Regions from separate parts of the Homo sapiens genome. Here all the other regions are linked to region 4. Evidence: promoter capture Hi-C in 16 types of primary human blood cells and fetal thymus (Javierre and others, 2016). All regions are on one chromosome and are shown on one strand. The core of a region is centred on a gene start or on the middle of the fragment in contact, and the rest is flanking DNA. Distances in the headings are between cores, read along the strand shown. Region 1 overlaps LOC124906267 (a long non-coding RNA gene). Region 2 overlaps LOC124906267 (a long non-coding RNA gene). Region 3 holds the start of DPPA4 (developmental pluripotency associated 4). Region 4 holds the start of NECTIN3-AS1 (NECTIN3 antisense RNA 1).

The links. The method cuts DNA at HindIII sites, captures the fragments that hold promoters and counts their contacts. A CHiCAGO score of 5 or more calls a contact.
Region 1: a fragment that was not itself captured here is called in contact with the fragment with the promoter of NECTIN3-AS1 in region 4 in 5 of 17 cell types (endothelial precursors, total CD8 T cells, total CD4 T cells and 2 more); the score reaches 10.3 in endothelial precursors.
Region 2: a contact is called between a fragment that was not itself captured here and the fragment with the promoter of NECTIN3-AS1 in region 4, in 1 of 17 cell types (endothelial precursors). The highest score is 6.4, in endothelial precursors.
Region 3: a contact is called between the fragment with the promoter of DPPA4 here and the fragment with the promoter of NECTIN3-AS1 in region 4, in 6 of 17 cell types (M2 macrophages, M1 macrophages, M0 macrophages and 3 more). The highest score is 9.1, in M2 macrophages.

What each region holds. Positions count from the first base shown.
Region 1 is chr3:109,736,866-109,742,497 of GRCh38, reverse strand. All of the region lies in intron 2 of LOC124906267 (a long non-coding RNA gene), which reads right to left. Among named protein-coding and RNA genes, the nearest start is that of MIR4445, 140 kb to the right of the region's middle. The HindIII fragment of the contact is 1,213 bases long and covers 2,521-3,733 here.
Region 2 is chr3:109,721,773-109,727,626 of GRCh38, reverse strand. All of the region lies in intron 2 of LOC124906267 (a long non-coding RNA gene), which reads right to left. Among named protein-coding and RNA genes, the nearest start is that of MIR4445, 120 kb to the right of the region's middle. The HindIII fragment of the contact is 1,283 bases long and covers 3,702-4,984 here.
Region 3 is chr3:109,335,677-109,341,238 of GRCh38, reverse strand. DPPA4 (developmental pluripotency associated 4) reads left to right here and starts at 3,693. Exons shown (of 7, transcript NM_018189.4): 1 at 3,693-3,775. The coding sequence starts at 3,722. RefSeq lists enhancers at 1,762-2,369, 3,588-4,195, 4,196-4,804, 4,805-5,413. The HindIII fragment of the contact is 8,399 bases long and covers 1-5,562 here.
Region 4 is chr3:111,067,166-111,072,522 of GRCh38, reverse strand. NECTIN3-AS1 (NECTIN3 antisense RNA 1) reads left to right here and starts at 2,564. Exons shown (of 4, transcript NR_045114.1): 1 at 2,564-2,733; 2 at 3,052-3,259. LOC151760 (putative uncharacterized protein LOC151760) reads left to right here and starts at 757. Exons shown (of 4, transcript XR_007096272.1): 1 at 757-1,031; 2 at 3,052-3,259. It overlaps NECTIN3 (nectin cell adhesion molecule 3), which reads right to left and starts at 707. Exons shown (of 6, transcript NM_015480.3): 1 at 346-707. The coding sequence starts at 505. RefSeq lists a silencer at 880-979. The HindIII fragment of the contact is 1,000 bases long and covers 2,359-3,358 here.

The sequences.
Region 1 (5,632 bases), core at 1,878-4,377, 1.3 Mb after region 4:
ATCTCCAATTTTCTTTACTGCGTTGCTTCCAAAATATTTCTCTGACCTCTCAGCACTGGAGTCATCTTTTATAATTGGTACTACATTCCCCAGGATCTCACCTAAAATGTCTCAAAGATCGGGAAGGGGTGATGCTGGTCTGGCAGCAAGGCACAGGGAGGCTGGGACACTTGTTTGAGCTTTGCTATTGCAAACAAACCAGCAAGAAACCAGACGGCAGCTGGTCTTGTTACTCAGAGAGAAGTTTGAACTAAATCAGAGCATGGTCACCACACACTACCAAAATAAGTGTCTCTTTAGTCCTTCAGGAGTTGAGATATCTGAAAGTTTTAGTTTTCAAGAGATCTAAAGGTGTTAAGAAAAACTTTTCAGAATTAGCAGCTAAAAAGACCACAACCACTCTGGACTCTGGCATTGGTTCCATTTAGAGTCTTTCATAACTTATTTTATTGGTGGCTCTTTCTTCCCCAGTATATTGAATGTAAGTTATCATCTCAACTATTGATTGACTTCTCTAACTTAGATTTTTAAAATGTATTTTTACATATGTCATAGAAAATTATAGCTCCTTACCAAAATCTGTTTTTTCTTTTTTTTTTTTTTCTGCTGGGAATCTGACACAGATACTGAAAAGAGGACATGGGTAGACAACGTCCTTCACTCAATATTGGCAGAGAAACACAGAAACCAACAGCCATGGGAAACTGAGGGAAAAGATATCTGCACTTTGTCTCTGATCCCCTCTCAGTTCCCCAAGCAGAGGAGTCAGGACTTGAGAAGAGACAGAAACGACGTCTAATGCAAAGACAGACCCCCACCCCTGAATTGAGAGAGAGGAAGAGAATAAAGGCATCAGAAGAGACCCATGCACAAACGTAAGTGTGAACTTTTAAAAGAGCAAAAAAAAATGACAAATAATAAATGGTGTTGGAAGGATGAGCAAATGAAAAAAGAGAATGTGCAAGGAATTAAAAAATTGAAAGGAAAGTTTCAAGAAGTATTAGGGAAACAAATTGACTAACGCACCATTGTAATCTCTATTTTCACAGATGTAATCACTGAAGTTGTTCAAGTACATTTCATAGTTTACCTGAAGTAAAAAAAAAAAAAAAAACCCAAGGGCAGAAACAGTCCTAATTTTTACTTGACTCTTTGAGTCACCGTCCCTCTAAGGATATGGTCTTTTACATTTAATATCCCTTATAAAAATATTAGTGAGTGATTGAAAACCACAAAGCAGGCATATTTCCTATGAGGAGGTGAAAAAGTGACAAAAGCGTTTTCCGAACATAGCAGAAAGAAAAAGCCAGACTTTTGCATTCAAACGCCTACACAACAGCATGTCACTCAATTAACCTGAAACACTTATTTGTAAGTGACATTTTATAAATGTATTCTGAAAGGGAACCAGTCTAGTCTTCATTTTTGATAATGGATGTTAATTCAGGAGCTAAGTATTGAATTCTAATAACATAAAACTAGCTCTCTATCTTATATCCACAGTTCAACTTATATTAATAATTATAAATGAAGATGGTCTTTTTGGGTAAATATATAAATAGATGCAACATATGTAATGGGCAGGACAATTTAGAACCATCCCTTTCCCATCCCCAGGTATTAATTAGGTTAACTATTTTCTTTTTTAAGAGCTTACAAAACTCATTAAGAAGCAGACAAACTGGAATTCCACTGTCAAGTTTGTTCATATTTAAAATTATATTTACATTCAAATGCACTTTTTAAAGTTTAAAGGGCATCATTGTTTTGTAATTATTACATAAATTATATTATATCATATTGCTGAGTAGGTCGTACTGGCATTAGAGATGTGTCTAAGATTACCTCAAAACACTTTTGGCCAACATTCATCCTCATCTTTTAAGATGGCTCTAGTTCACTTTATAAATAAAACAAAGCTTTTCTAGTATTTTCAGCATGGGTGGTAACTGCTGGTGTCATGTTATCATAGCAGCAGTCTACATGTGCATGTTCATGCTTAAGAACATGTACATTAACTCACATGTTCAGAAAGCGCTTTTCTTTAAAACAGCAATTAGAGGCTCACATTCATAAAACTTTGTTTTTTTTTTAATTTTATTATTATTATACTTTAAGTTTTAGGGTACTTGTGCACAATGTGCAGGTTAGTTACAGATGTATACATGTGCCACGCTGGTGTGCTGCACCCATTAACTCGTCATTTAGCATTAGGTATATCTCCTAAAGCTATCCCTCCCCCCAACCCCCACCCCACAACAGTCCCCAGAGTGTGATGTTCCCCTTCTTTGTTTTCTTGAGAAGAGTCATATTTCAACTCCTAAATTTAGCATTAAGAGCCCTTCAATAGCGTGCCTTATACTCTTTCAATCTCATTTCCAAATATTGATTTTTCTCCTTTCTGCCCCTTCTTATCTACTTATCTTTTCTGTTGATCTTTCCTTTCTTCACACTTTTGTTCAGTTCATCTTCTCACTGGCGTAATTTCCCTCTGGCGTAATTCTATTCATTATTTAAGCTTCAGTTTGTTTTATTTTTTCAGCTTTATTAAGATATAGCTGACAAGTAAGTCATATAATTTACAGCATACAATGTGATGTTTTGATATATTTATACATCTTGAAATGATTGAATCAAATGAATTAACATATCCATCACCTTGAATAATTATCTTTTTGTGGTGAGAACATTTAAGATCTACTCTCTAAGAAATTATTACTATTAGCTAGGGTCACCATGCTGTACAATAGATCTCCAGAACTTATTTAACTTGTCTGTCTGAAACTTTGCACTCTTTGACTAACATCCCATTTTCCCTTTCCCCAGCCACTACTAACCATCATTCTACTCTCTGCTACTATAGTTCAACATTGTTAGATTCCACATATAAATGTGATTATGCAGTATTTGTCTTTTTGTGCCTGGCTTGTTTTGATTAGCATAATGTCCTCCAGGTTTGTTACAAATGACAGTATTTCCCTCTTTTTTAAGGCTGAATAGTATTCCATTGTGTATATACATCACGTTTTCTTTGTCCGTTCATCCACTGATGAACACTTAAGTTGGTTCCATATCTTAGCTATTGTGAAAAATGCTGCAGCTTAACATGGGAGGGCAGATATCTCTTTGAGAACTAATTTCATCACTTTTGGATACATACACAGAAGTGAAGTTGCTGGATCACATTAAGTCTTATTTTTTATTTTTTTAGAAACCTCCATACTATTTTTTATGACTGTACTAATCTACTATTCCTACCAGCAGTGTACAAGGGTTCTCTTTCTTTCATATCTGCCTCAATACTTGTAATCTTTTGTTTTCTTGCTAATAGCCATTCTAACAGGTAAGAAGTGATATCTCATTATGATTTTAACTTGCATTTTACTAATTGTTAGTGATGTTGAACATTTTTTATATACGTTTTGGCTATCTATATATCTTCTTTTGAGAAATGTCTATTCAGGTCTTTTGCTAGTGTTTTCATCACATTGTTTTCCTGTTATTGGGTTGTTAGAGTTCCTTATATTTGGGATATTAACCCTTATCAAATGTACAATTTTCAAATATTTTCCCCCATTGCCTAAGTTATCTTTTTACTCTATTGATTGTTTTCTTTGCTGTGCAGAGGTTTTTAATTTGATGCAATTTTACTTGTGCATTTTTGTTTTTCTTGCCTGTGCTTTTGGAGTCATATCGAAAATAAAATTATTGCCCAGGCTAATGATAAGAAGCTTTTTTCCTGTGTTTTCCTCTAGTAGTTTTACAGCTTCAGGCCTTAAATCTAAGTTTTTAGTCCATTTTGAGTTGATTTTTGTATACAGTGTGATATGGTTTGGCTTTGTGTCCCCACCCAAATGTCACCTTGAATTGTAATAATCCCCACATGTCAAGGGTAGGACCAGGTGGAGGTAATTGGATCATGGCAGTGGTTTCCCCCATGCTGTTCTTGCGATAATGAGTAAGTCTCACAGAACCTGATGGTTTTATAAGGGGCTGTAATTTCCCCTGCTTGCACTCATTCTGTCCTCCCCCTCCATTAAGAATGTGCCTGCCTCTCCTTTACCTTCAGCCATGATTGTACATTTCCTGGGGCATCCCCAGCCATGCAGAACTGTGAGTCTATTAAACTTTTTCCTTTATAAATTGCCCAGTCTCAGGTATTTCTTCATAGCAGTGTGAGAATGGACTAATACAGTAAATTGGTACTGAGATAGTGAGGCACTGCTTTAAGGATAACCAAAAATGTGGTAGCAACTTTGGAACTGGGTAATGGGCAGAGGTTGGAACAATTTGGAGGGCTCAGAAGAAGACAGGAAAATGTGGGAAAGTTTGGAACTTCCTAGATACCTGTTGAATGGCTTTGACCAAAAATGCTGATAGTGATACGGAAAATAAAGTCCAGGCTATGGTGGTCTCAGATGAAGATGAGAAACTTCTTGGGAACCGGAGCAAAGGTGACTCTTGCTATACTTTAGCAAAGAGACTGGGCAGCATTTTGCCCCTGCTCTAGAGATCTGTGGAACTTCGAACTTGAGAGAGATGATTTAGCATATCTGGCAGAAGAAATTTCTAAGCAGCAAAGCATTCAAGAGGAAGCACAGCATAAAAGTTTGGGAAATTTGCAGCCTAAGGATGTGATAGAAAAGAAAAACCCATTTTCTGGGAAGAAATTCAAGCCTGCTGCAGAAATTTGCATAAGTAAGGAGCCCAATGTTAATCACCAAGATAATGGGGAAAACGTCTGCATGGCATGTCAGAGACCTTTGCAGCAGCCCCTCCCATCACAGGCCCAGAGGCCTAGGAGGGAAAAATGGTTTCATGGACTGGGCCCAGGCCCCGCTGTTATGTGCAGCCTTACAGCATGGTTCCCTGCATCCCAGCTGCTTCAGCTCCAGCCATGACTGAAAGGGGCCAAGGTACAGCTCGGGCCATTGCTTCAGAGGAAGCATGTCCCAAGCCTTGGTGGTTTCCATGTGGTGTTGAGCCTGTGGGTACACAGAAGTCAAGAACTGAGGTTTGGGAACCTCCACCTAGATTTCAGAAGATGTATGGAAAAGCCTGCATGTCAAGGCAGAAGTTCGCTGCAGGGGTGGAGCCCTAAGGAAGAACCTCTGCTAGGGCACTGCAGAAGGGAAATATGGGATCAGAGCGCCCACACAGAGTCCCCACTGGGGCACTGCCTAGTAGAGCTGTGCAAAGAGGGCCACCGTCCTCCAGGCCCAAGAATGATAGATCGACTGACAGCTTGCACTGTACACCTGGAAAAGGCACAGACACTCAATGCCAGCCCATAAAACCAGCTGGGAGTGGGGCTCTACCCTGCAAAGCCACAGAGGTGCAGCTGCCCAAGGCCATGGGTGCCCACCTCTTACATCAGTGTGACCTGGATGTGAGACATGGAGTCAAAGGAGATCATTTTGCAAAAGTAAGGTTTAATGACTGCCCAATTGGATTTTAGACTTGCAACGGGCCTGTAGCTCTTTTGTCTTGGCCAATTTCTCCCATTCAGAAAGGGTGTATTTACTCAATGCCAGTACCCCCATTGTATCTAGGAAGTAACTAACTTAATTTTGATTTTACAGGCTCAGAGACGGAAGGGACTTGACCCTTGTCTCAGATGAGACTTTAGACT
Region 2 (5,854 bases), core at 3,094-5,593, 1.3 Mb after region 4:
ACAAACACACAATTAGATAGATAGATAGATAGATAGATAGATAGATAGATAGATAGATAGATAGATGTTTTAATATATTTAGGGAGTGGATAGGCTATATTCCATTTAATATTTCTTGACACACAATAATTTGCCTGAATTTAAAGTGGTAAGTGGTATTTCTACAGTACCCTGGTTGTCCTATGTGCAATTAATTTAGACCATCACCATCACCAATTCTCTATTTTGGAGGCATCACACTACCTGACTTCAAACTATACTACAACACTACAGTAACCAAAACAGCATGGTACTGGTACCAAAACAGAGATATAGACCAATGGAACAGAACAGAGCCCTCACAGATAATACCACACATCTACAACCATCTGATCTTTGACAAACCTGACAAAAACAAGAAATGGGGAAAGGATTCCCTATTTAATAAATGGTGCTGGGAAAACTGGCTAGCCCTACGTAGAAAGCTGAAACTGGATCCCTTCCTTATACCTTATACAAAAATTAATTCAAGATGGATTAAAGACTTACATGTTAGACCTAAAACCATAAAAACCCTAGAAGAAAACCTAGGCAATATCACTCACGACATGGGCATGGGCAAGGACTTCATGTCTAAAACACCAAAAGTAATGGCAACAAAAGCCAGAATTGACAAATGGGATCTAATTAAACTAAAGAGCTTCTGCACAGCAAAAGAAACTACCATCAGAGTGAACAGGCAACCTACAGAATGGGAGAAAATTTTTGCAATCTACTCATCTGGCAAAGGGCTAATATCCAGAATCTACAAACAACTTAAACAAATTTACAAGAAAAAAATCAAACAAACCCATCAAAAAGTGGGCAAAGGATATGAACAGACACTTTTCAAAAGAAGACATTCATGCAGCCAACAGACACATGAAAAAATGCTCATTATCACTGGCCATCGGAGAAATGCAAATCAAAACCACAATGAGATACCATCTCATGCCAGTTAGAATGGTAATCATTAAAAAGTCAGGAAACAACAGGTGCTGGAGAGGATGTGGAGAAATAGGACTGCTTTTACACTGTTGGTGGGAATATAAACTGGTTCAACCATTGTGGAAGATGGTGTGGCGATTCCTTAAGGATCTAGAACTAGAAATACCATTTGACCCAGCAATCCTATTACTGGGTATATACCCAAAGGATTAGAAATCATGTTACTATAAAGACACATGCACACGTATGTTTATTGCAGCACTATTCACAATAGCAAAGACTTGGAACCAACCCAAATGTCCATCAGTGATAGAATGGATTAAGAAAACGTGGCACATATACACCATGGAATACTATGCAGCCATAAAAAAGGATGAGTTCATATCCTTTGTAGGGACATGGATGAAGCTGGAAACCATCATTCTGAGGAAACTATTGCAAGGACAGAAAACCAACCACCACATGTTCTCACTCATAGGTGGGAACTGAACAATGAGAACACTTGGACACAGGGTGGGGAACATCACACACCAGGGCCTGTCATGGGTTGGGAGGATGGGGGAGGGATAGCATTAGGAGAAATATCTAATGTAAATGACGAGTTAATGGGTGCAGCAAACCAACATGGCACATGTATACATATGTAACAAACCTGCATGTTGTGCATATGTACCCTAGAACTTAAAGTATAATTTAAAAAAAAAAATATATATATATATATACACATATTGGTTAATGGAAACTATTTCAGTCTTAATTGTAGTGAGTCTCACATCCAAGAATAATCTGTGAGTGACAAAAAAAACAGCATCAACAGCATCTCCAAGATTTGCTCTCAGCTTGCCTGAAGATGCTGGTTTTCTGCACATTGATCAGAGTGCCATTTCTCCAGATTCCAGAATACTCAGCTGACACGATCAGATGTGCAAATACTGCCTCTGCAGTTGCTTCCATCATTTCAATGAATCTAGAGATTGACTCTGAGCTTTCAGCGTCAAACACAGGCAATCCAAAGATGGCTGAGGAATTCTTTTGCAAGATTTATATTTTGCAAATATAGGCCAATCAATCACTCTTTTTGTAAATACACCCACAAGGTGACTAGATATTCTCTGCCAATTTTCTTCTTTCATTCAATGTGGCCTCAGAAGTTGTTTGATGACAGGGAAACTGCTATGGGAAATCCTAGGCCTGTCCCTGGATGTCAAGGATGGGTTACAAACACATGCATCACAGGCCCTACTGCTTTAAAACATCGATGAAAATAAATTGTCCGTCTTCAGTTACTCATTTGCTTTAAATTTACCTAGTGTTAAATCCTCAAAATACAGAAAGATCAGGCAGTTCACAATTTCCTCTCCAAAGCGAATATACCAAATTAATCGAAGCATCTATTCCTTTATGCTGACTTAAAGCAGCAGGATTTGCAAGATGTTACTTGAAGAATACACAAGAGGTAAATGAAAAATCTATTTTTATTTACTACTTTGTTTCAGATTACATACAGGGAGTTAAGCAGGTTCTTTGGGGCTGAGCAAAAATTTATCACAGTAGTTTACCTTACGAGGTCCCTGCCTAGACCACAGGCTAACTCACCTTCTCTGGTCCCCCATTAATATAACAAAGCAGGCCTCTCACAGCCCTATTTTACTACATCCCCTAATGTCCCTCACTTCTGGCCATTGATTCAAACTGCTCAATTTCTCTCTCCTGAGATTTGTACTTTGGCCAATGAGGCAGCCATCCACAAGTGCATGGAACTACAACATAGGAATGTGTTAGCTGTGAGCTGTGATTTCCTGAAGCCCAGCTTCATTCCTGTCCTTAATTTCCATGCAATATTCCTACTTTCTTACAATAACTCTCCCTTTTGTTTTTCTTAATCTAGCCTAAGTTGACTTCTGATACCCTCACCTAGTACAAAGGAGGCCAATGGAGATATATATATATATATATATATATATATATATATATATATATATATATATATATATATAGTTTTTTTTGAATGTGTATGCAGCATGGAATTAACCTAGGCACCTTTCACTAAGGCACAACATTTGGGGATTGCAGATTCTTCCTATACCCTACCCACAAATTCTTTTCACTTTCAGGTTATCCTTAGTTTTCATTTTATTTTACAGAGAATAAAATTGAGAATCACAGATTCTCAATACTTTGCAGAGCACAGAATAGATTGACCTGTCTAGACTTCAGAAAGAAGTAAGTAAACACAATGATTTCTATTACCTGATGAACCTGCTTCATTTTTATGCTTTCTCCTCCTGTGATTATCATTTTTGTCTGTCCTTAAGTGCTCACTAAAATTCCCACATTGTACATTCATTTTGAAGAGAAAGCTTGTTAAAATATACACCATTATTTTTCTTTAAGTCTAAACAAGTGAAATGACCTTCACAATAGGAAACTGGGAAAACCTGTTCTTTCCTTTTAAACATCTCTGCACATCTGTACCACGCTGGCACTCAGTAAATATTAAAGATCTGTCACAGGTATTGTATTATGATAATTCTCATTAATACAGAAAAAAAAAAGAAAAATCTGACAGCCCAATTGAGAGAGGCAATAGTGAGACTGGCAGAACTAGCCCAAGGGCCTTCCCTTGGGCTAGGGACCTTCCATGTCTGGAGTCTCCTGACAACTAGGCCAGTATCTTCATGCTGCCCTCAGGGAACCCCACTCAGTTTCACTGATCAGATATTATCAACTAAGCTTCCAAAAAGTCTTCTTTCTCTCACCATGCCCCCAGTAATTTTACAGTTTCTCAGACCTAATTTTATTTGTATTGTTATCCCCTGCCTTATTTCACCAATGATTGAAGGAGTTTATGAGAGTACATTTTTTAAATAGAAAAAAATTTAAAAATTGATTAATAATCATATCCAAGAAAATGAATTTAATTGCAAGAGAGACATCCCTATTGCAATGTCTCAGAAATTAAGGAGAAGGATAGCAGTTTGTTCAAAATATCTAATCAGGTCCTTAAATGTGGCTACACTAACCCTCAAATAAAAGAAAAAAATGTTTGTCTCCTTTAAGCTCTGTATTATTTAGGCCTTTGTTATTTAAAACTTAACTTAGCTCTCCCAGACTCAAAGGCTGGTCTCCCTTAAGATCTATCCTCCATTCCCCTAGATTTCTCCAAATCTGATCTAGCCCATCGAATAGAATGTCTGGAAACTTCTACCAGGAGAGTCTAGGATTAACTTTCACATAGTCCAGTGGATGTGGTCTGGTAACTTGAGTGCAAATTAAGGTCCTGATGCTCAGTTCATCTGATGTCAAATGGATAAGTGTTGAAACACACACACACACACACACACAAATTCATAGCCCTCACCTCAAAATCAGAATTCAGTCTAAATCAAAATCAATAAATGTTTATTGAATAACTTTTATGTGACAACCACTATCTAAATACATCTTAGGCATTTTCTCATTATTATTTACATGTATCTTTGAGATAAGTACTATTTTTTGTCACTTTCTATAGGTAGTTTACCTTCTCAAGGTCATCTTATTGTTGAAGCTGGCTGCTAGAATCCTTGACATTTCATCTGTATTCTAATAGGAAGAAGACAACCACAAAGAAAAGTGTGGCTGCTGTTTTTAGAAACATTTCTTAGAAGTTGCACACACAATTTCAGCTTACATCTCATCATCTAGGATTTAGTCACATGTGTACACCTGCAGCAAGGAAGTCTGGAAAATGGGGTCTTTATTATAGATAGACATTTACCTAGCTAAAAATCAAGGGTCTGGGGCTAAGGAAAAGGAGGAAACAAATTATAGACAACTAGCTGTCTTTGCCATGGGAGGAGTTTCCCAAATTGATCTCGAGGAGGACATGATGCTGAGAAGCAGTTAACATCTGGATGATTCACAGGGATAAGGAGATCAATTCTTCCTTGGATTCCATGTACTATAGGATAATGAACCTAGAAATGAATAAGGGGAGTTTAATACTTCACTTATATATACATAGAAGGTCAAAGCTTATGGGAAAGTGAAAACAGAGAAAAGTCCTTATTGCTACTAAACTAATCATTTACACATTTCACTTTTCCTATAAAGAGGCAAAACAGTGTATCTAAGGGAAGCAAGTGTTTCCAGACACTGATTCTTGAAACATCTGAACAAATTTCTTGGTGGGACTTTACATAGGAGATATAAGTCGTGTGGCATGAAGTCCTTGTTACCTTAAACAGTTTATTCAGTAGAAAGAAATTATCTTAATTCCATTCAGCTAAGATGTAACTGAAAGGTAACCAGTCTTAGTGTATTAAAATCCCCCAAGATATGTATCCTCTAAAAAGATAAACCTAAAATTATATCTAGTAGTAGGATATTTTACATATATGATGGGGCTAAAGAGAATTCTGGTTGCCCTTCAAATTATATCTCCTGAAGGTGAAAGACCTCTACATGGAGAACTCCAGAACACTGATGAAAGAAGTCACAGATGACACGAACAAATGGAGAACCATATGCAGAAGAGTAATACTGGACCCCTTTGTCTCACCATATACACAAATTAACTCAAGATGGATTAAAGACATAAATGTAAGACCTGAATCTATAAAAAATCTTAGAAGAAAACCAAAGAAAAATTTTCTGTGCATTGGTCTAGGCAAAGAACTTGTTACTAAGTCCTTAAAAGGAAACATAACAAAAATGAAAATAGACAAATGTAACTTAAACTAAAAGCCTTCTGAACAGCAAAAGAAATAATCAACAGATTAAACAGATAACCTACAGAATGGAAAAAATGCAAACAGTTTATCAATCAAAGGGCTGATATTCATAATCTATAAGAAATTCAAATAACTCAACAAGCAAAAACAAATAACCCTATTAAAAAGTGAGG
Region 3 (5,562 bases), core at 2,444-4,943, 1.7 Mb after region 4:
GAATGGCGTGAACCCGGGAGGCGGAGCTTGCGGTGAGCCCAGATCGCGTCACTGCACTCCAGCCTGGGCGACAGAGCGACACTCCGTCTCAAAAAAAAAAAAACAAACAAAAAAAGATATGAAGGAGGGCTGGGCATGATGGCTCACGCCTGTAATCCCAGCACTTTGGGAGGCCAAGGCGGGCGGGTCACTTGAGGTCAGGAAATCGAGACCATCCTGGCTAAAGGTGAAACCCCGTCTCTACTAAAAATACAAAAAATTAGGGGGCGTGGTGGCACATGCCTGTAAGCCCAGCTACTCGGGAAGCTGAAGCAGGAGAATCGCTTGAACCCGGGAGGCGGAGGTTGCGGTGAGCCAATATCTCGCCATTGCACTCCAGCCTGGGCAACAAGAGCGAAACTCTGTCTCAAAAAAAAAAATTAAAAAAAAAAAAAAAAAATTAGCCGGGCGTGGTGGCTGGCGCCTGTAATCCCAGCTATTTGGGAAGCTGAGGCACGAGAATCGCTTAAAAACCCAGGAGGCATAGGTTGCAGTGAGCTGAGATTGCGCCACTGCACTCCAGCCTGGACTACAGAGCGAGACTCTGTCTCAAATAAAAAATAAAAATAAGATATGAAGGAAGGGAGGAAATGAGGGAGGGAGGGAAATTGTTTATAAGCAAATAGGTTTGGGTTTTCTTGTTTTTGATGATAACCAGATCTATCATCTACCTCCAACTTTTCCCTTTTTAAACAAAAGTTATTAATTAACCTCATGATCTGCCTTACTCCCTAAATTTAATTTTAACTGACTCACCTTTTCCTACAGTAAAATAACCACTAAAACGGCAATGATTATCCACTATAGGAGATACTACAAGGTAGAATTATTATAAATTAGGTGTGTCAAGTACTAGTGTACTTGTTAAAATACTAGACTCTTGGACATGGGGAAAGAGGTATTTTCATGCACTGTTATAAATTGGGGAACTCTATATAGATATTAAATAAACCCAGCTTTTGACTCAGCGCTTCTGGAATACACAGCAGAGAGACACAGACAAGGGTTCCCTCCCTCCCCCACAGCCACACCTCCTGCCCCCTCTCTCCATTCTGTTAGGAAACAGTGTTACATATGAATCAATGCTGGTTTGTTTTCTGCAGATGCAGATTAATGACTTTGGAAGACTCACTGCCTCCGGGTAAACTAAAGGACTCATTAATTCAGTTCATTTTACACAATTAAAAAACTTTTTATAAAAAAAGAAAGCGAAAAGAAAAAGCTGGGCTTAGGGGTGCTGGCCTTTAGTCCCAGCTACTCGGGAGGCTACAGCTGGAGGATCATGTGAGACCAGGAGTTTCACCTGGGACCAGCCTGGGCAATATAGGGAGACCTCTTAAAAAAAAAAAAAGGAAAAGGAAAAATAAAAGAAAACCCAACCAGAATACCCCTAAATCTCTCAAATTCATTCCTCTCCAACTCTTTTTTTTTTTTTTTTTTTGTCTTTTTCTTGAAACAAGGTCTCACTATGTCACCCAGACTGGAGTACAGCGGCATGATCACACTGCAACCTCCACCTCTTGGACTCAAGCGATCCTCCCACCTCAGCCTCTCGAGTAGCTGGCACCCCTGCGCCACCACGCCTGGTAATTTTTTGTATTTTTGGTAGAAATGGGGTTTCACTATATTGCCCAGGCTGGTCTTGAACTCATGAGCTCAAGCGATTCTCCTGCCTCCCAAAGTGCTGGGATTACTGGCATGAGCCACCACGCCCTGCTCTTCTGATCCCAACATGTGCTGTGCCAGCCACTGTTTTCTCCAGACACTGTTTTCTCCAGACATGCCCACAACCCTCTAAGTAAAGGCTATTATTTTCATGACTCTCATTTCATGGATGAGAAAACAAAGAGACCTAACGTTATTGCCCAGGTCACACAGCTAGTGAAGGGGAGGTTGGGTTTAAATCCTGTCTGGCTAGCTGCTAAAGCCTTACATTTAAAAATGAATCAATCTGGCCTGGATTTGGTGTCTGTGTTTTTATGTTTTATTTTTATTTTATGTTTTATTTTGAGATGGAGTCTCACACTGTCACCCAGGCTGGAGTGCAATGGCACGATCTTGACTCACTGCAACCTCTGCCTCTCCAGCTCAAGCAATTCTCCTGCCTCAACCTCCTTGGTAGCTGGGATTACAGGCACGCACCATGCCCGGCTAATTTTTGCATTTTTAGTAGAGAAGGGGTTCTGCCATTGTTGGCCAGGCTGGTCTCAAAACTCCTGAACTCAAGTGACCTGCCCACCTCAGCCCCCCAAAGTGCTGAGATTACAGGCGTGAGCCACCATGCCCAGCCCAGAACTCCAGTTATTCTGAATGTTACGTTCAATTACACTGACAAAAGAAAGATGATTCAGTTATACACTTTATACACAAACCTTAATTAGAAAGTCCTACTGGTGGTTACCAAAGGCTGTGGTAAAGAATTGTTAAATCAAAGCCCTAATATCTCCCAGATGACCTCAACTCACCTGGTTTCCTCTTTGCCGCCTTGGGGGTTGCCCAGTCCACAACCTGCACTTCCTTCTCTATTCCTGGGCTCCGTTTACTTACTTTTTCTGTCCGTGGATTTCTAGCCTGTGAGCAGATTACTAACACCATTTGGATAAAGACAGTCTCTTATTTATCATTTTAGGACAAGCAATGAGATGTAGGAAAAAAAAACAACAAAGTAAACCAAAGAACAAAAGAGACTTTGGACCCTGACAAGGGAGGGTTTCAGTCGCACAGCCACTGCTTCCTTCACTTCACATCTCTTGACAATCTGACAGGGAGCACTGATCTGAGGAAAGATTTTTCAAATTATTTTAAGGAGAAAAACTTGAACTTCTTTGGGAGTCAGTAGGTTAGGGGTTCACTTACTGTGCTATTGAAAAAGTTACCAATAAAAATTTATACCAACTTTAGTCATATATAAAATGGGGAACAATAATGACTGAATTTAAAACTCACAATTTGAGATATAAAAAAATACTCGGGCGGGGAGTGGTGGCTCACGCCTGTAATCCCAACACTTTGGGAGGACAAGGCTGGAGAATTACTTGAGGGCAGGAGTTCGAGACCAGCCAGGTCAAAATAGCCAGACCCCCCCACTTGCCCTCTACAAAATAAATAACAAATACTCTATAGACTTTAAAAGCTACTATTATTAGTTCGTTGGCAGATGAAAAGATGCTCGGTATTAGTACAGAGAAACCTGGAGTTTTAGTTGGTTGAGTAACTTACTTAGGAAATGGAATGTATTTGGTACGAGAAAATAGCTTTCTTCAAGCCGCCAGTCTGGTCTCTGAAGTCTACTGTTGCCACAAGTTCCATTATTAAATCCCTTCACACATCCTGCTCAAGTCTCTGGCCACTGTTTTTTTGTTTTTTGTTTTTTGTTTTTTTTCCCCGTAGAATCGTTCTGAAGGAGTGCTCAATCTCCCAATGTCTCCGGAACCATACTTTGGATAATTACATTTAAAGTGAACAGAAAAGGGCCAGGAATAGTATTAGTAATTCAACCCAGACAAAAGTCACCCCATGAATAAGAAAGAATGCAATTTTAGCATTTACAAATTGTGGGGGAGGGAACAGAAGGGGAGAAGAAAAGAAGAGGTGAGGTGGAGAGAAAAAGGGTCTTCGGGCGGCAGGAAGTGGGAGGAGACTTTGCAAATAGCAATCTTGGGGCAGGGGCCATTTTGGAAGCATGTTGCGAGGCTCCGCTTCTTCTACAAGTATGGAGAAGGCAAAAGGCAAGGAGGTCAGTACAGTTTTAGTGGATTTGTTTTCTGTCTGTCTTTGTGTTTCTGTCTTCCCTGGGCACTCCTGATTTTTCCTTTAAGGAGAAAAGAATGTGCCTTCGAATTTTCTCCTCTTGACTTTTTTTTTTTTTATTTTAAGAGTAAGGCCCAAGAATATGATTGCAGCCTGGTATATTGGAGTGAGCAGACAAGTAAGAAATGAGGTTTTCTAGGTTTAGTTGAGGAGGTTGAGTGTGTCAAAAGATGGGGAAAAAAAAAAAAGAGGCCGGGCGCGGTGGCTCACGCCTGTAATCCCAGCACTTTGGGCAGCCGAGGCGGGCGGATCACCTGAGGTCGGGAGTTCGAGACCAGCCTGACCAAAATGGAGAAACCCCGTCTCTACTAAAAGTACAAAATTAGCCAGGTGTGGTGGCGCACACCTGTAATCCCAGCTACTCGGGAGGCTGAGGCAGGAGAATCGCTTGAACCCGGGAGTCGGGGGTTGCGGTGAGCCGAGATCGCCCCATTGCACCCCCAGCTTGGGCAACCAGAGCGAAACTCCACCTCAAAAGAAAAAGTTAAAAAATTAGGTTTTCAGGTTTGTGTTTTGGAACAGGGTTTCACTTTTGTCTCCCTGGCTGGAGTGCAGTGGCACCATCACTATTCACTGTAACCGCCCAGGCTCAAACGATCCTCCCACCTCGGCTTACCAAAGTGCTACTGGGACTGCAGGCGCCCGCCGCTGCTCCCGGCCCGGGTTTTCTGTTTTGAAGAGGTGCTTAGTCCTGTCAGAAAGAACTAACTGAATATGGGGGCTAGAGGGAAATGGTAACAGGAGAAAAGGGTGTTAAAGGAAAGATTTTAGGAAGAGGTAATTGAGCTGAGTTTGGAAAAGAATGAAACCCCTTAATTTCCTTTAGACGGACACAGATCCTAAACCGAGGGTGCTGAGAATGAATTCGTCCCCTTTTCCCAGCGTCCTTAGGACCTAGGAGTAATCAGAAGCCAGACATTGGGAACAATGCAGACAGAAACTGAAGGAAGAGAGGATTTAAGACGTTGCACAGGCACTGAACGGCCATATCCGAGCGCTCTCAGGTCCTCTTGACTTGAACTGGGTCATTTTTAACTGTCTCGGTTTTAAGTCTTTTGTGAGGTCCAAAGTGAGTACTTTTTGTAAGGTTTATGCAAATATAAATTTCAAATCAAAATGTAGAACTGCTATAGAGATGTAAAAATGCCATACAAATGTTAATTTGTCCAGTAATCCACCCTGAAAGTGAAGAAAAGGATTTAGATTTAGGAGAAATTTTATTATATTAATTTTTTTTTTTTAATGAGTTTGACTCTGTCGCCCAGAGTGGTGTGCAGTAGCCGATCTCGGCTCACTGCAGCCTCTGCTTCCCGGGTTCAAGCGATTCTCCTGACTCAGCCTCTCGATTAGCTGGGATTGCAGGCACGCACCACCACGCCCAGGTAGTTTTTGTATTTTTGGTAGTGACTGAGTTTCGATATGTTAGCCAGGCTGGTCTCGAACTCCTGACCTCAATCGGTCAGCCCACCTCGGCCTCCCAAAGTGCCGGGATTACAGGCGTGAGCCACGGAGCCTAGCCTTTATATTTAAATTTTAATTTATATCTAATGTACCCCTAATCTGTGTCTTTATGTTACCTCTGATTCTCAGCTTCTGTGTCTGAGAAGTAATTGTTGCCAGATTGCTATGAGAATTAAATGAATGAAAAAAGGAAGGCCAAGGCCAGGCACAGTGGCACACGCCTGTAATCCCAGCACTTTGGGAGGCTGAGGT
Region 4 (5,357 bases), core at 1,315-3,814:
ACCTTAACCTACGAGGGTTCCCAGAGAATGAGCGAGGAAGTAACGGTCCCCGGAGCAAACCCGGAGTTCGGCGCACGAAGCACCATCGCCAACCCTCGGCCATCCGCACGGCGACCCGCGCGGCCGCGGGGGAGGGCAGCGGGCCGCCGGCTCAGCATTCGCTGGCCTGGCCCTTCCAGGGCCTCGCCCCGGGCGCGGCGAAAAGTTTCCAGCCAAAGTCCTCGGCACTCGCTCGCACAACCAACCGCCTCGCTGCTCCAGAGAACGGCTGGCAGAGCCGGCCGCGGCGCCCGCACCCTCAGTGGCGGCTCCCTCAGCCCACGCCGGCCGCCGAGGTTCACCTACCACAGAGCCTGGAGAAGAGCAGCAGCGGGAAGAGCAGCAGCAGCAGCGGAGGTGGCGTCGGGGGCTGCAGCAGGAGCCCGGCTCCGAGGAGAGAAGCGGAGGAAAGTTGTGCTTTGCCGCCTCCAGGACACAGCGGGGACGGCCGCAGGGTCCGCGCCATCCCCCACCCTCCCCCCGGCCCGCTCGCCCGCCCGCCCCCCGGCTCCCCCGGCCCCGGCGCCTCAGGCTCTGGGCGGAGGCTGTGGAAGGTCCGGCGCGCGCGTCCCCAGCTCCCAGCTCTAGCGCCGTCGCTGCCGGCTGACACTTGGCCGAACGCTGGCGGCTGCCTCGACACCGCCGTCGCCGACGCCACTGCCGAGGCTGAAGCGGGAGCCGCCCGCCGCCGCCGCCACTCCCCTCCCCTCGGCACCCGCCCGCGTCGAACTCCTGGGAACTCGGAACGCACCACCCCGCCCCACGCAAGAGGGGGAAAAGAAACCGACTCTCAGAGCGGGCGCCCGACTCGCCCGCCCTCCCCGCGCAACTCCACCTCCCGTCTGATCCCCGGGCGCAAGCCCTGTCTCCTCCCACCCCGCCCTCCTACACATGCTCCTCCCCTTTCAAAAAAAAATATTCTTTTCATCCACTTTGATAACGGGGTTTCTCCCACAGCAGAGATTTAAAAGGGACAGGAAAATCTGGAATAGGTTAGTCGGCCCCGCCCCTCGTTCCTGCCTGGTTTCCCCCCTTCCCTGCCTTTCCAATGGTCTCGCCCACTCCACCCCTCGCGGGTCCACGGGGGCCCCGGCGCCGACTGAGGCGAGGGCTGCGGGACAATCACGCTCGGCCTTCTCCTCTCCCGGGCGGCGCTCTCCCTGTGGCGGGGACCTGGGACGAGGGGGTGGGGTGGGGAGGGGAAGGCAGGAGGGGGCTGCCCTTCCGTTGCCCATGCTAAAGGTTCCTGTGTAGGAAGCTGGACGCAGCCTGCTGGACTAGTAATCTTCCTCCTCGCTGGGGCGCGGGGCACTGAAGGGAGGGAGAGACTTTCTCCTCCTTCCTGTTCCCCGGGACAGCTGTGCTCTCCGAATCCTTCCCTTCTTCCCAGCCCACTTATTCCCCGCTCGCCAAGGCACGTTTGCACAGGCATTTTTCCTGCTCTTTTTTCTGGGAGGGCAGCTTGGTAGAATGGTCGGCGGAGCTGGGCGAGGAGAGGGGTCTTCAGAAGGTTTGCTTTCTTGCTCTTGCTTCTCACTGGCCGCTGGGCTGTCCACTTTCCGCGCCGGGCGACTGGCAACAGGAGGCCATGGATTTCCCCCAACGAGTGCGTTGGTGTTTTTCTTTGGTTTTGTTTCCTTTGCATGTTCGTATGTGTAGTTTTATTTTCTTGCCTGTTTTCGTTTGATGGCAGAGAGGCGACCTCGGGAAGTATTAAACATTTGCCCGTATAAGAAGAGCGTCTGTGGTCCACCATGACCCTCGCTCATCCCAGGTGGCTCTCCGCCCTGCCCTCTCCATCCTCCCGCCTCGCACAGTACCGGCAGCTTGACCTTGGAGCCACTGCCACATTGGTTCCGCGGGGGGAGTAGGAGGGTGGACAATTTGGACTGTCCAGCGTAGGGGGTGAATTGAAGGCAGAGGACACCAGTCCTCAGGCCTGACACTATTAATTTTATGTAGGTCCTGTCATCTCCACGAGATAGCCATAAATGTGTTCCAGTAACAGGAAAGCTGAACAAGGATCAGCCGCCCAGAAGTTAGCCTGTCGCAGCTAAACTAATGCATGCTTGCGGCCAAGACCACGCTGTCCTCGGCTTTCAGTCAATAGGGTCTTCCCACCTTCCGCCCGCTGGATTACAAGGCTTTACTAACCTCCAAGGCTACAAGCCATTCTACACCCTGCCCACCTCTTTTTTCTTTCTTAACTTCTGCCTCCCTTCCAGTCTCCCAGCGCTCGGTCTAGTGCCTTTTTCCCTCCAGCCCTTTCCTCTTCCCTCCCTCCCTGTGCCTGTCTGCCTCTGTCGTCCCCTGTAAGCTTGTCTCCTGCAGCCAAGGCTTTCTATCACCTATTCTCAAGATGCACTTATGAATAAACCTTGTCCTGCATCGCTCCGGGAGATCCCCTGATGATGATCATAATTGACAAAATGTAGCTATTGTGACATTCCTCAGCTGTGCTGACACCACCGTTTCCCTTGAGAAAATTTCTTTTTCTATATTCGCATTCCCTAAACCTAATTTCACTGCTAAATTTAGACAGCTCACTGCGCAGCCACTAGCTAATTATCTGTTTAGATAGCACTTTAACACGTTGTTGAGACTCAGTTAAATGTTAAACAACCAAAATTTTAATATCACTAGCCAATTTCATTCTTCCAGGTTTTCCCTGATGGCTCCACATCTCCAAGAAAAGTAATTTAGCCAACATTTCAAAAAATACCAAAGGCTTAACTTGGGTAGGGGCCATCGGGCAATTGCTACAGAGACCATAAGGAATTAGCAGGTTAAGTTCGTCTCAAAAAGATGACATGGAGCTTTAACAAATATATTTCCTCCATACTTACAGAAATTGAATAGTGGTCTGCTATGATATTCTCTGACCTAAAGTGAAGAGAGAGCATGGAAGAGCATTATTTATAGATGTTATATAAGCATTAAAAGAGCACCATGCTGGTGTTTTATGTGCATATATGTATTATATTCTAATAATAATAATTTGTGTTTATACAGCATCTTCAACTAAAGATGTCAAAGCACAAGCTCACTTCCCACGGAAGGTAGCAATTACTATTATCTACTTGACAGCTACAAGAACCTAGGCACAGAGGTTAAGTGCTCTGCAAATACTACCAGCCAGTGGTGGTTTTCCTGCCAGAACCAAGTTCTTGCCTTCCAGTGGACACCATTGATCTCTCAAGATGATTCTTTAAGTTAAAAAGTAAGATAACTCAAATTTCTACTTTCTATAATAAAAGTGCCCAATCTTAAATTACATTCTCCTCAGATGAGTGAATTTTAGACATACTCACCCCAAGCTTTCCTGTTGGAAATTTTTACTGGCCACAGAAAAAGATTTTACATTACATATACAACTCATGTTTTTCAAGGGCAGAAATACTATTAATTTTTTTAAAACCTTTAGCATGAGAGTATTAGTGCGTTCTATGCCATTTTTAGTCTTCTAACTTTATACATAAGTTCACATTTATTGTTTGAATAACAAACTGTTTAAGGAATACTTAATTATAGCTAACTTATTAATATTTCTGACACCATTGAATAACAAAGTATACATGCATTTTTTCAGAAAAAAATTATCTGAACAGAAAGCAATGTAATCCTAATGCCAACAATAGTTTCATTGTTTTGGGTTAAGAGTACTGATGGTGTCCATCCTACTTTCGGCTCAAAGATTGTTTGCCAATTATCAAGGTTCATTAACTCTTAACTAAAAAACAAAGGTTGACATCTTAACAAAGAAGTAATTATGTACAGTGCTGGGCATTTTACATTTACTCAAATAATCCAAGTGAAAAGTTTGAGACTATTATTAGAATTTCATAGCTGACTCTGAAACAAAGGAGGTATTTTACAGGAGAGGTAAGACATTATATACTTCAGCTAATTCTTCTTAACATCAGCAAATTCTATAACCTGCTGTGTGAGGACGCATAGCTTTTCCTTTAGTAAAAGAGATGAATGATATTTTGTAGAATATTTGAACTTTGTACTATATTTGATAATAAGCTTATGTTATCCAGTTAGGATCACAGTTTTTGTAAAGAGAATTATGCAAATAATAAAAAACAAACTGCAAAATCGCAGAAAAGTCCATCCACTTGCAAAACGTTCACCAACCTTACTCTTATTAAATGCAAGTCTTTCTTACTGAACAGATCTTCCCTGTATGCTCATATGACTTTCTCCCTCCTATTTCCTTTGAATCTTTGATAAAATTTAACTTTATCATTGAGGCTCTCCAGGACCACATCATATGAAAGAGCTTCCCCCACCCTAATCCCTATGCCCTTAACTTGCTTTATTTTCTCCATTGCCCTTACCATCTGACATGTCTCTAATTTACTGTCTGTTCCCTTTCACTAGAATGAACAGTCCACAAGGGCAAGCAAGTATCTATATTTTCACTGTTAAAACTCAAGTAGGCCAGGCACAGTGCCTCCTGCCTGAAATCCCACCACTTTGGGAGGCCAAGGCTGGCAGATTGCTTGGGTCCAGGAGTTCAAGACGAGCCTGGCAACATGGCTGTGTTAGTCTGTTCTCATGCTGCTAATAACGACATACTTGAGATTGTGTAATTTATAAAGGAAAGAGGTTTAATTGACTCACAGTTCCACATGGCTTGGGAGGCCTTAATCATGGAAGAAGGCAAGGAGGAGCAAAGTGGTGGCAGGCAAGAGAACATGTCCAGGAAAACTCCCCTTTATAAAACCATCAGATCTCATGAGACTTATTCACTATCAGGAGAACAGCACAGGAAAGACCTGCCCCCATGATTCGATCACCTTCCACTAGGTCCCTTCCACAACACGTGGGAATTGTGGGAGCTACAATTAAAGATGAGATTTGGGTGGGTACACAGCCAAACCATATCAATAGCAAAACCTCCTTTCTCCTATAAATACAAAAAAAAAAAAATTAGCCGGGTGTAGTGATGTGCTCTTGTAGTCCCAGCTACTTTGAAGGCTGAGGTACGAGAATCAGCTGAGCCCAGGAGGTCGAGGCTGCAGTGAGCCAAGATTGCATCCCTGTACTCTAGCCTAGGCAGCTGGAGAAAGACCCTGTCCCCCAAAAAAAACCAAAACCAGAACAAAACAAAACAAAAACCCCAAGTACCTAGAATAATGTCTGCCATATAGATTCCAAACTGGATGATTAAATGATTATTATGACATAGCATACTCAAGTGCATGTCTCATTCAGTAGAGGTTTATACTTCTTTAAGGTCTTGAACAATAGGATTGATCATGTATAGTTTTTTTAAGCTGGAAGGTGGTTACTCTGACCATTGCTTAACA